Linked DNA regions of Homo sapiens: all the other regions are linked to region 1. Evidence: promoter capture Hi-C in 16 types of primary human blood cells and fetal thymus (Javierre and others, 2016). All regions are on one chromosome and are shown on one strand. Each heading gives the region's core, a stretch centred on a gene start or on the middle of the fragment in contact. The rest is flanking DNA. Distances are from core to core; before and after follow the strand shown. Region 1 holds the start of RAP1B (RAP1B, member of RAS oncogene family). Region 2 has its middle 3.5 kb from the start of LINC02384. Region 3 holds the start of SLC35E3 (solute carrier family 35 member E3).

Region 1 (3,962 bases), core at 555-3,054:
CTACTAAAAATACAAAATTAGCCGGGCGTGGTGGCGCATGCCTGTAATCCCAGCTAGTCGGGAGGCTGAGGCAGGAGAATCGCTTGAACCCGAGGGTGGGAGGTGGGGGCGGAGGTTGCAGTGAGCCGAGATCACGCCATTGCCTTCCAGCCTGGGCAACAAGAGCGAAACTCTGTCTCAAAAAAGAAAAAAAAAATGCTAACTCAGCCGGCGCGGTGAGTCACGCCTGTAATCCCAGCACTTTGGGGGGCCCAGGCGAGCGCATCACCTGAGGTCAGGAATTCGAGACCAGCCTGGCCAACATGGCGAAATCCCCTTTCTACTAAAAATTAGCTGGGCGTGGTGGCACGCGCCCGTCATCCCAGCTACTCGGGAGGCTGAGACAGGAGAATCTCTTGAACCTGAGAAGCAGAAATTCCAGTGAGCCGAGATCATGCCACTGCACTCTAGCCTGGGTGACAGAGCAAGACTCTCAAAAAAAAAGGTAACTCTGTGAGGTAATGTAACAATGTATACATTACTTCAAACGATCATGTTGTATACACAATAAATGCAGACAATAAACAATTTTTAAAAAGATATTTTTCTAAGGAAATAGAAATTATCGAAATAGGTAATCTACTCAATTAACCTAAATTGTAAAACATTATAAAACACAGAGAACTGTTATAATTCATTCTCATCTATTCATTTAACTTAGGTTAGCTTAGTTTTCAATCACTACATATTCTTAAACGGAGTGAAATTAGTCACATTCCATTTATCTTCCAAATTTATCAACGTTTATTAAGATTTATTTCAAGAATAATTTGTACAGGGCCTAATTAAATTATGAACCAAGAAAGTTAGTCTTAAATGACCCCTCAATCCCTTTTCCCTGCACTTTGCTCTCTTAATCTCCTCGCCCATCAAAACTGCTTCAAGAAAAAGTTCTGATAAATTTCTTGTACTAAGGGTAAGTAAGAATGGTAAATTCCCGTGTTAAGTTCCCGCCCTTTTTGGAACGAGGCATTTTGGAACAGAAAGTGTTTTCTGGTGCCCTGAAGTCACACGATAAACCTACTTGCCTATGGGTAATCCTGTGAAGTGAATAAAGCGTCCAGGACATGCATTTAAATACGCAATTTATTTTAGTTATATAAATGGCGTTGGTTTAGGTGCAGGGTACAAACTTATTTAGAAATCATCGATTTGTTAACTGCGTTTGGCATGGGAATTTGGAAAGAGTTCGCCCGGGTTAAGACACCAATGGATAAAACACTTGTCAATCCAGGAGAAAAGGCATCTCAAGAATGGAAAGACTTGCTGGCCCAGGCTCCCTCGGGGAGCTCTAGGTGTAGAAAATGCGCGCTCTCCGTTACTTCTCGGTTACTTTGCCCAGCACAAAGGACGACGCGAATACCAACAGACTGGACGAGTCGGTGACTACAGTTTGCATTAAGAGGCGGCGCCTTTTGGGTTTCGGAGGGTTCCACTGGAACCCACGAGGGTCAGGAACACCGACGCGCGGATTCCGCCCACCAGACAGCCTGGGGAAGCGAGCCTGAAGGCGCGGCGCAGCTAGAGAGAAGAACCTCGGCAGACATGCCGCCCAGAGGCAGCTAAGGGGCCCGTGGGCAGGGCCTGCGCTCCGGCTGCGATGCAGGCCGGCTAGAGGCCGGCGCCGAGGACCCGGCGCGCGGCGGCCCCGCCCCCTCGGCTCCCCTCGCCCCGCCCCCTAGGCCCGCCCCTTCCCGGGCCGCGCACCCGCGCGCCCCGCCCGCGGGCGGAAGCTGGAGCGAGGCTGAACGCCTGACGTCAAGGCGACATCGCCAAACCTCGCCCAGATTCAGGCGTGTAAACCAGCCGGAGCGGCGCGGCAGCGGCAGGACCGCCGTGGCGCCTAGAGTAGCGACCCGGGGGGAGCGCGGGGCGACGCTGGCTGCAGGGACCCGGTGACAGCGTGAGAGGTTCGCAGAGTGAGTGCGTGGCCGCTGAGGGAAGCCGCGGCGGCGGCCGCGCGGGGCCGGGCGCCGGCTGAGGGGAGCGGGTGGGGTGCGGCGAGGCGCGGGCCGGGCGCGGCGGTCAGGGGCCCCGGCGGCGGCAGCCCCTCGGCGCGCGGCAGGTGGCGCGAGGGCCAGGCGCCGGGCCCGCGAGCGCGCTGCCTTGCGGGCCGGCGAGGAGGAGCAGCCGCCGCCGCCGCGGGAGAACAGCGCGCTTTGCGGAAGGGGTCAAATGTCTGAAATATGGCGGAGGAAGTGAGAGCCCGAGGACCCCCCCACCCGCCCGCTCTCTTCAGCCCGCGTCCGCCGCAGCTTCTCCCGCCGCCCTCCTTTCCCCGCCGGCTCCCCCGAAGACTCGCTCCCCGCCCCGAGCCCCCTCGCTTGTCGCCTGGGTTCCCTCCGTGGTATGGGTGGAAGTTAGAACGGAAACCAGAAAGTTGTCCTTTGCGAAGACCTAGCTTCTCCCAGCCCCGAGCTAGGGCGAGGAGCCTTCGGGGGAAACCACTCCCAGGCGCCCCGCGGGCTTGAGCCTGACAGCGAAAAAGTTTGCCTGAAACGGGGCTTGCTTGCTCCATTTGTTGCGGGAAGTGGCAGGAGGAAGGCAGCGGAGAGAGCCCCACTTAGTCTGGCAGCAGCCACCGTGTAGAGAAAAACTGTTAAAGGGGCCTTTCCCTTCGTCAGCAAGAGGAAATCTCTTTCTCTTAGAGGGAGAGAAAATCCAGGAAGTTTGTCCTCTTCTCTTTTTCGCCATCTCGAGGTGTCTAATCCTAAAACTATCAGCGCCATGAATTTTATTTAAAACTACGCCCAGTGAACCGGGCTCTCCGGATTTTTCTTCTGAAAAACACTGATGTCTTTTGGAGAAAAGATCATTTTTGCAAGTTAAAGCAGATGGTTTCCTTCCCCTTCGCTTTCCCCCCTCTCCCACTCTCTTTAATAGTTTAGAAAAACATTTTGGCCCTGTAACTTCTGATTGGTATGAATAGAAGCAGTTCTGTGTTGCAGTAAGGGGAAATCACATTTTTACGGGGTAGAAAGTTGACACTAAATGAAGATTGTGATTTTAGTATTTTAAAATTAATTCCGTCTAATTGGATTTTGGTTTTGCAGGCAGCATCTCATATATGTCGAGTACTTAACAATTTAAAGCTCTGACTTGTAAATTTATTTTTCAGCTCTCTTTTTTCGTAATTAGAATACTGTTTGGACTTGCTCAACAAGACCTTATCTTAACAAAAAGTAACTTATAGAAAAGGGAGACATTCATTTAACTTCAAGCCCATATTATTCTTAAAAGCTGACTCTTGAAATAGTATTTATTGAGTCATAGTGGAGTCATGGGACTTTTTAAGGGCCGGAAGGGACTATTTAGATCATCCAGTCCCACCCTGTCATTTTATGGAGGAGGAAACTGAGGCCTAGATAAGATAACCAGTTAGTGGGTCCACTGACCTTTAGGACAGTAGTCTATCCGTAAGAGACAACATGGAGAAAGAAATACAACGTTTTTATAGTGAATTATCATCTTACAAAGAATATTCTTCCCATATCGCACTTTTAAAAAGTGGGTACCTTAGTCAAATAGGAGAAAAAACCACTTGAGTAGTTTCATCCTCAGGTTTTAGGTGAGGAAACTGATACTCAGATTAAATAACTTTAAGCACACAGAGCCTGAATGATAGTCTTATTTGAGCTCATCTGTGCTTTTAATGTGTACTACGTTAGGTGTTTTCACTTGCATTTCCTTTAGTCTTATTTGAGCTCATCTGTGCTTTTAATGTGTACTACGTTAGGTGTTTTCACTTGCATTTCCTTGTTTGACGTTGACAATAAATCGTGAAGCTGCCTTATCTAAGGAAGTCCTAAAGTAAATCATTGGAACACATGTAGCCAGTTTGTTGTTTTTAATATGCCAGGTATCAAAATATAACTGAAGAACCAATGCTAAACTGACTTAATTTTAAAATGTTGTATGGGGCA
Region 2 (3,962 bases), core at 697-3,196, 160 kb before region 1:
AGTCTGGGCTCTTTGTGTACCCATCACCCAAATACTGTACATTGCACCCAACAGGTAATTTCTCATCCCTCATCCCCACTCCCACCCCACCCTCTTATCTTTTGGAGTTTCCAATATCTATTATTCCACTCTGTATGTTCATTACACCTTGATTTTTACACTGTTACTGTTAGTCTAGTAAGTTCTCTCACTCCGCAAAGATCATGTCTTGCCATGGGGGACACTTTTCTAGAGGATAGTAATTATGAGCTGATGCTTTTGGGCACTAACCATGTGCCAGGAGTGGAGAGGGCACATAGTTAACATGAGAAAGATTTACTCAGTTAGTAAAAGGTGGAGGCAAGTTGGAACTCAATCTGGCATCTGGGTCCATGTTTTCCAGGTGCTGCTTCCCTTATTGGGCCCCTGCAGGGTGCAGAACGGTCCTACTTTCTGCAAGGTGTTTGACGTCCCTGTCTACCACACACTATAACTGCATGATACCTTCAGAATCCTGACAACCTAAGGACTGCCCCCACATTTCCAGACACCCATGTGAGTGGTGCTGATCACACTAAGAACCACAGTGTCTTGTGTTCATGCAGTAATTTTGAGAAATTAGTTTCCTGTGATTTGTTTCTTTCTTCCAGTGTTTAACCAAATAATAAAAATCCTTTAACGTTTTACATGTTATTTTTCACTTCAATAGAAGGCTATCACTATTGAGGGCCTGCTCTATGCAGACTAAAAGATAAGTAAGCTCCTTGCCTCTAGCCACTGACAATCTGGTTAGAGAAATAAGGCCTTAGTAGATGCAATAGCTAAGAAACAATTCAAGACACTATAAGATTAAGTCCAGAAATGACCAGAAAGACCTAGATTTATATTCTGGCTTTGTGCCACTTACTAGTGTGAGCCCAGTGACATTCTGTAAGCCTCTCTTTCCCTACCTGTAAAACGGGGGTATCATTAAACAATGCACATAAATTGCCACCACAGTATGTAAAGCATGAGATATACTTAATAAATGTTAGCCATATCCACCAATCACCACCCTCTCTGAATCAGGAAGAAATAGGACAAAAATGGGATACAGAGAGGATGTGCGTAAGAGAATAGACAGCATTCTGGGCAGGAGGCACAGCCAAGCAAAAGCGTGGTGTCAGGAATGTGCATGCCTGCGGCAGAAACTTACAGACTCTCAGACTGGATGAAGTGAAGGGTTCCAGTCAAGGAGTTATGAGAAGTGAACACATTAAAGTAAAGATAAGTTTACATTTGTTATGTGGACATGGAATCTCCTGGGGATTTTTGAATTTCTTCAGTATCACGACTTTCAAATACAGAAGAAATGCAAACCTACACAAAAGAAAATGAAGGAGTCTTCTAGCCATTCCCCCAGGGCTTCCCACACCAATGAGCGCGGATGCATCTATTACCAATCAATGTCTTTAAGAAGCCTGAAGAAATAAATGCATGGCACTGCTGTGGGACATATTTTTAATTCTTCTTTAAGTTCAAACCTGCCATCTAATTTATTTTCACTTTCAGTAAATGCCTTTTAAGCTTCTCAGACTTGAGCTAAGTCACATAGCTGATAAATAAATAGGATAAACCTACAGGAATATACTTGGTTCTTCAATCTTATGAAGTCTGAAAAATTGTATAAAGTCGACAACTTCAGCACTAATGGACCTAAAATGGCCAAGAAGCTATTGCTACTACTGTGTTACAATCGCTTTTGCTGGAGCATTCTTGTTTCTGCTGCTCATTAGGAAAAGTACTATCACACCCAGCAGAAAAGAATAATTGGCAAATCAACTAATTAAGGCAATATCGACACTCCTCTTGTCACCCAGTCACTTCTTTGTTGTAAATAAGCTTACTTGCTTACATTAAAGTCATTAGCTCTTCATATGTAAATAATAATGCACTTGAATTTAAACTGATTAGATATCTGAAAACAAACTTCAGTCCACTCTAATCTGGCCAGGATAGGGAAAACAAAGAGCATTATTGTCTTACTTAACCTGGTAAATTCAACACAACTGTATGAAGCTTCCGAATTCATTAATATCCAAATTCACCTTCCCTCCTGGACATTAGCCGGAATTCTATCTTTAGTTGTAAGACACACTATACTAAACAAATACTATAGTAATTAAAGAAACCACCCATTTCCTTCCCCCTAAGTTCCAGGAAGCCATGTTATTTCTGCAAACCAATTTCTATTTGCTGACTATTCTCCAGGGCTTTTAAAAGCAAATAAAATGTACCGGAAACTGTTTTCCAAATGACAACAAAGAATACATCTCCTACTCTCTCTTCTCCCCCAACAGGAAAAAACAAACAAACAAAAAAAGTGTGTGTTTGTGTGAATTTAAGGCATATACATTTAGGGTCTTGTTAAATCCTGAAAGATTGAAAGCCCCACAGTGTCCTGAAAGGAAATGTTTGAAGAAACTTCTCAAGTCTCTAAAGTTAGCTGGATCCTTTGCGACACTCACCTCTCATTTTGGCTCCTATAATTACCCCCTTTAACTTAATGCTGTTTATTTTTATATCTCTTCCCATCTTTCCTCATACCACTTTGTTTACAGCTGGTTAAAAAAAAAAGTTTATATTCACATATGTTCAATTCTGTCTTCATTTTCACTTCTCAGTTTCCCCTGCCCCATTTACCCTAGTGGGTTTGTTTGTTGGTTTTTTGTTTTAACTTCTTTATCATTGTCATTCTTCAGTCTAAACAGGATGAATTATTGATATAATCCCCAGCAAACAACTTCTTAACCACTTCCCACTCCTGAACCTTTAGTTTTTATTAAAGCACAAAGATTTATGTCAACCAAGAGTCCCATATAGTTCATTTCATCATGGGAGGAAGGGGGTTGGGAGAGGGGAGGAAATGAGACTTATTTTCATCCTGTTTGGATCCAAGACAAAGATCTTATGTCATCCAAAAGGGAGCCAAGACAAGACAGAGCCCCATGGTAATTGCCCACACTCTAACCTTTCTTGTCTCCCTTCTTGTCCCTCACAAATACCTCCCAGCAGGCCAGATTATTTTGTTAGAGAAGCTCCAAGCTGCCTACAACCCTGTAACAGGATAAAAGCTCTAGCAAGGTTTATGCAATGGACACTTATTTCCCTCACATCTCCCCTTCCTGCTCCTCAGATGATACCCTTCACTTCCTGTCCAGGTCAGGTTCCTGTACCGGAGGGCCACCCCAGGGTGCACTTCCTGCCTTCTAGCTGGTTTCATTGTCTGTGCCCTTAAAGCCCAGTCTTCCCCACGGGCTCCTGTGCTTTTCCACCCATCACATCATTCTGTTTACCTCTTGTTTGCTTTTTACTCCTTCCAAACTATCTCCTAGACCTGGAGTTCTCTCCCAGCTCTTTGCCTACATACCAATCTCAGCCTTTCTTAAAACCACGTTTCTCCCAGCAGTCACTCAGTAACTGCAGCCAATCAGGATTTTTGATATCCTGTCAACTTTGATTTGTTCTACCAACTTCATGGTGAAAATAACCACCACCTGCCGCATGATTCAGTCTTTTAAAGGCCTAGAACCACACACTTAACTAGGAATATTTGATATCTGAATTATGCTGTTTATCAAACCAAAGCCATGCTTTTGCTTTTGTGGGAGTTTTGTTTGTTTTACACTAAGCAAGACTATACCTACTGGCTACCTCCTCTGACCCCCTAGGTTAGATTACTTCCTACAGTTATTCTTTTACTCATAATCCACTTTACCTTTTGTTGTTGTATTTACGTATTTTGTTAGTGTACTGTGTGTAATAAATAGTTTGTCTAATTTTCAGTTTAGATAAGTTTTTCCCCCACCAACCTATAAATGTGTGAACTTATGAAGGGTTGGGGGAGCCAGGTGTTTCCTTGTCAAGCTGCCTCCCTTTCTGTCTCTTCCGCCTTCATTACTGTTCTGTTGCCAGCACAAACACAGGCCTGGCACATATGAGTT
Region 3 (3,962 bases), core at 670-3,169, 140 kb after region 1:
GTGCCTTGTTTTTTGAATGTCCTTTAAAAAACACAGCACAGAAACCCACTAAGGTTGTGGAATTACAAAATTCCTTCAACCTTAGACTCTTAATTAGGATGCCCTCAAATGGACTTGTTTTTAATTTTTATTTATTTATTTATTTTTGAGACATGGTCTTGCTCTGTCTCCCAGGCCGGAGTGCAGTGGCATGATATCTCACTGCAAACCTCCGCCTCCTGGGTTCAAGCGATTCTCCTGCCTCAGCCTCCCTAGTAGCTGGGATTACAGGCGCCTGCCACCACGCCTGGCTAATTTTTGTATTTTTAGTAGAGACGGGGTTTTGCCATGTTGGCCAGGCTGGTCTCAAACTCTTGACCTCAAGTGATCCACTCGCCTCGATCTCTCAAAGTGCTGGGATTACAGGCATAAGCCACTGCACCCAGCCAATTGGACTCCTTTGAGTCCTTAGGGAGTCAATGTGTGTGTTGCTGCTTATTTAAATACAGTTCAGTTGGAGCCCCAAGAGTGCCAATGTGCTCCTCACAATTCCCAAATGCCTCTCTTCCTGAACACCAGAAGTGGTGGGCACCTGAGTGGGAAATTTCAGGCAACTTAATTTAGTTCCTCAGTGCCTACTCTTGAAGAACTGGGTTTTCATTCTAGAGAGGAAACTCAGGGAAGGGCGTGTTGCCTATCACAGGTTCGCATACTAAGTTTTAAAAACTTTTCTTGGTGTGACTTATGCCAAGGAATTATGAAGACTTTTTCCTTGAGCATTGCATGAAGGCTACAAAGTTGGAACAGGCATGTCCTGGGTGTGAAAGTTTTAATTTCCCTACCTCATTTATTTATTTAATTTAGAGATGGGGGTCTCACTATGTTGCCCATCCCGGCTTCCAACTCCTGGGCTCAAGCAATCCTCCCACGTCAGTCTCTCAAATAGCTGGGACTACAGGCCCACGCCACCATGCCCTACTTCCTCATTTATTTTAAATTTTTTGTACCACAGTCTCTCTTTTTAATTTTATGACTGCTGAATTAATCCTAGACTCTGTCTTAAAACTAAGAATTGATGTATTGGCAGGAACAGCTGGACATTCAAGATGTTTTTGTGATTCCTTTTTTAAAAATCTCCTTTTGTACCTGTAATATCTACAATATATAATCTTTCTTTATCGACTTAAGGAGGAAGGAGAAAGGAAGAACCTGACTTCTGTGTGAAGGACCTTACTGTCGATCAAGACTGTTACTCAAAGTTCTATCTCTTAGTCATTGCACCTGACCTGATCCAAAACATATATATATATTTGTATGCACCCCTAGAGACAGCTGTATATATATACGGTTTTGCCAGGTTGTACGTTTTTTTCTCGAGTTGTAAGTGAACACAGTAGCACTCGTTTACATTGTCAAGGGGACATCTTTAGAGAACACATTTTCTCACTGTTGAGCTAATAATGCTTTGTGAATGTATGATCTAAGGAGAAACCCTTGTAGTTATACCCGATGATGCTGTCTGTTGGAAAGTAAATTTTGAATGTCTTTTTCCAAAAATAAAAAATAAAAACATGCTTTCAATAAGTTCTTTCCCCCCTCTGGCGAGGGCTACTAAATTTGCTCAGCATTTAATACGTAAAATTGGCTAACAGTGTCTGCACAGCCAGAGAGAAGTTGTCTAGCAAATCGGGTCAATGACACACAGGAAACAAACATCAAGAAAGGGGTCCTAGATTGGTCCAGTCAGGTAGGCGTTAGGTGACCAAGGGGGTCGGGGACCCAGAGGATAGGACCCAAAGACGCAAGCGTCGCGCGCCCAAGGCTCAGCGCGCCTGCGCAGGGTAGCGGCCGTTCAGCCAGCGGCTCGGGGGCGGAAGCACTGGAGCCCCGAGTCACGTGGCTGCGGGCGGAGATGAGCGGGGCGTGGGACGTGCTGCGGCGTCCTAGCTGGCTTACAGGGCGGCGGCGGGGTGTGTGTCCTCTGTTAAGAGTGCTACTCGCCCGGGGTTGATCTGTGCATGCCACTCCTGGGTCAGACGGTGAGGTCGGCGTCTGCGAGGACGCGGCGGTGGAGTAGAAGGGCAGCCGGAGACAGGCCCGGCGCCCCTTCCGAGGCTAGACGGCCCCAGCTTCGCGGGGATCATGGCATTGCTGGTGGACCGAGTGCGGGGCCACTGGCGAATCGCCGCCGGGCTCCTGTTCAACCTGCTGGTGTCCATCTGCATTGTGTTCCTCAACAAATGGATTTATGTGTACCACGGCTTCCCCAACATGAGCCTGACCCTGGTGCACTTCGTGGTCACCTGGCTGGGCTTGTATATCTGCCAGAAGCTGGACATCTTTGCCCCCAAAAGTCTGCCGCCCTCCAGGCTCCTCCTCCTGGCCCTCAGCTTCTGTGGCTTTGTGGTCTTCACTAACCTTTCTCTGCAGAACAACACCATAGGCACCTATCAGCTGGCCAAGGCCATGACCACGCCGGTGATCATAGCCATCCAGACCTTCTGCTACCAGAAAACCTTCTCCACCAGAATCCAGCTCACGCTGGTGAGTAGCTTCAGCTTCCCAAGGCGCCGCTCTCCCGACCCACCTCCTGCACTGGCCCCGGGAAATTCGAACGCACACTGGTCTTTCCCTTCATCTTGAAATCCACAAATGAGTCATCTGTGGGCATGTGAACTTTTAGGCTTATTTTAGGGAGGGGGAAAAGGCCATCTTGTCAGCCCAGAAGAGTGGGCATGTGTGAATTTTAGTAGCTGCCATTTGATGGAAATCGTTAAATGCTGTGATCGATAAGAAAAAAAGCTGTATTGGGTGGTACAGTCCAGTGTTATCAGAATATCTGCAAAAGCTCAAACAAAAACAGCCTTTCTCCCCCAGGGGAATCAAATCGTGTATGATAAAACGTGAAAAGATGTAGCATAAAGTAGGTCTCAAAACGTCTGCAGCACCATACTTTAGAGCTGTCTGCATCTTTAAATAAAAGGAGGTGGACTCAATTTTAGCACTTAGTAACTTATTTAAGGTCTTTTTCTTTTTTTTTTTTTTCTTTTTGAGACGGAATTTCACTCTTGTTGCCCAGGCTGGAGTGCAATGGCACGATCTCGGCTCACCGCAACCTCCGCCTCCCGGGTTTAAGCGATTCTCCTGCCTCAGCCTCCCGAGTAGCTGGGATTACAGGCATGCGCCACCACGCCCGGCTAATTTTGTATTTTTAGTAAAGACGGGGTTTCTCCATGTTAATCAGGCTGGTCTCGAACTCTGACCTCAGGTGATCTGCCCGCCTTGGCCTCCGAAAGCGCTGGGGTTACAGTGGTGAGCCACCGTGCCTGGCCTTATATTTAAGGTCTTTATGCTTTTATTGTTTTATATTTATGCTTATGCTGTTTAGACACTAGTTTGGGGATCCATTTACTCACCTTTGTATTCATGTGGTATTTTCTTGCAAAGTGCAATATATTTACCACAAATTTAGAATGGAATTAAATGTGAATATCAATATAGATTTGTCATATTTCACGTTTAGGAAATAGGATTAACAACTAGTTTTCCCAAGTCAAAACAGAAAACATTTATACAGGTTCATTGTTTCCCAGTTATGTGTTTATCATTAGCCTTGTAAGACATTGTGAAAGGAATACTAAATTTTTGTCTCTTGAATTTAATCTGAACAACATTTACCTCTTTTTCGTTACAGATTCCTATAACTTTAGGTGTAATCCTAAATTCTTATTACGATGTGAAGTTTAATTTCCTTGGAATGGTGTTTGCTGCTCTTGGTGTTTTAGTTACATCCCTTTATCAAGTGGTTGGTAATTTTTTTTTCTTTATGTGCCTTTTTAGCAGATTTCATAAATTTTGAAGCTGTATTCCAAGGTTTAGAAAATACAGTATAGAGACAATAGACTGTTGGGAAGAAAGCATAATTGCATAAGTTGTCTGACTCAAGGTGAAGAGAAGAAAGGAGACAGAGAAACTTGGGTGTG

Evidence for each region. Contacts are between HindIII fragments. The CHiCAGO score rates a contact against its expected background, and 5 or more counts as called.
Region 2: a fragment that was not itself captured here is called in contact with the fragment with the promoter of RAP1B in region 1 in 1 of 17 cell types (non-activated CD4 T cells); the score reaches 5.3 in non-activated CD4 T cells.
Region 3: the fragment with the promoter of SLC35E3 here is called in contact with the fragment with the promoter of RAP1B in region 1 in 1 of 17 cell types (neutrophils); the score reaches 6.6 in neutrophils.

Annotation. Positions count from the first base shown.
Region 1 is chr12:68,609,095-68,613,056 of GRCh38, forward strand. RAP1B (RAP1B, member of RAS oncogene family) reads left to right here and starts at 1,805. Exons shown (of 8, transcript NM_001010942.3): 1 at 1,805-1,949. RefSeq lists a silencer at 1,662-2,121. The HindIII fragment of the contact is 9,459 bases long and covers 1-3,962 here.
Region 2 is chr12:68,452,959-68,456,920 of GRCh38, forward strand. No RefSeq gene overlaps it. Among named protein-coding and RNA genes, the nearest start is that of LINC02384, 3.5 kb to the left of the region's middle. The HindIII fragment of the contact is 177 bases long and covers 1,859-2,035 here.
Region 3 is chr12:68,744,257-68,748,218 of GRCh38, forward strand. It overlaps SLC35E3 (solute carrier family 35 member E3), which reads left to right and starts at 1,920. Exons shown (of 5, transcript NM_018656.5): 1 at 1,920-2,523; 2 at 3,674-3,784. The coding sequence starts at 2,122. It overlaps NUP107 (nucleoporin 107), which reads left to right. Exons shown (of 28, transcript NM_020401.4): 28 at 1-1,553. RefSeq lists enhancers at 1,593-2,283, 2,133-2,232, 2,283-2,392, 2,753-2,942. The HindIII fragment of the contact is 13,773 bases long and covers 1-3,962 here.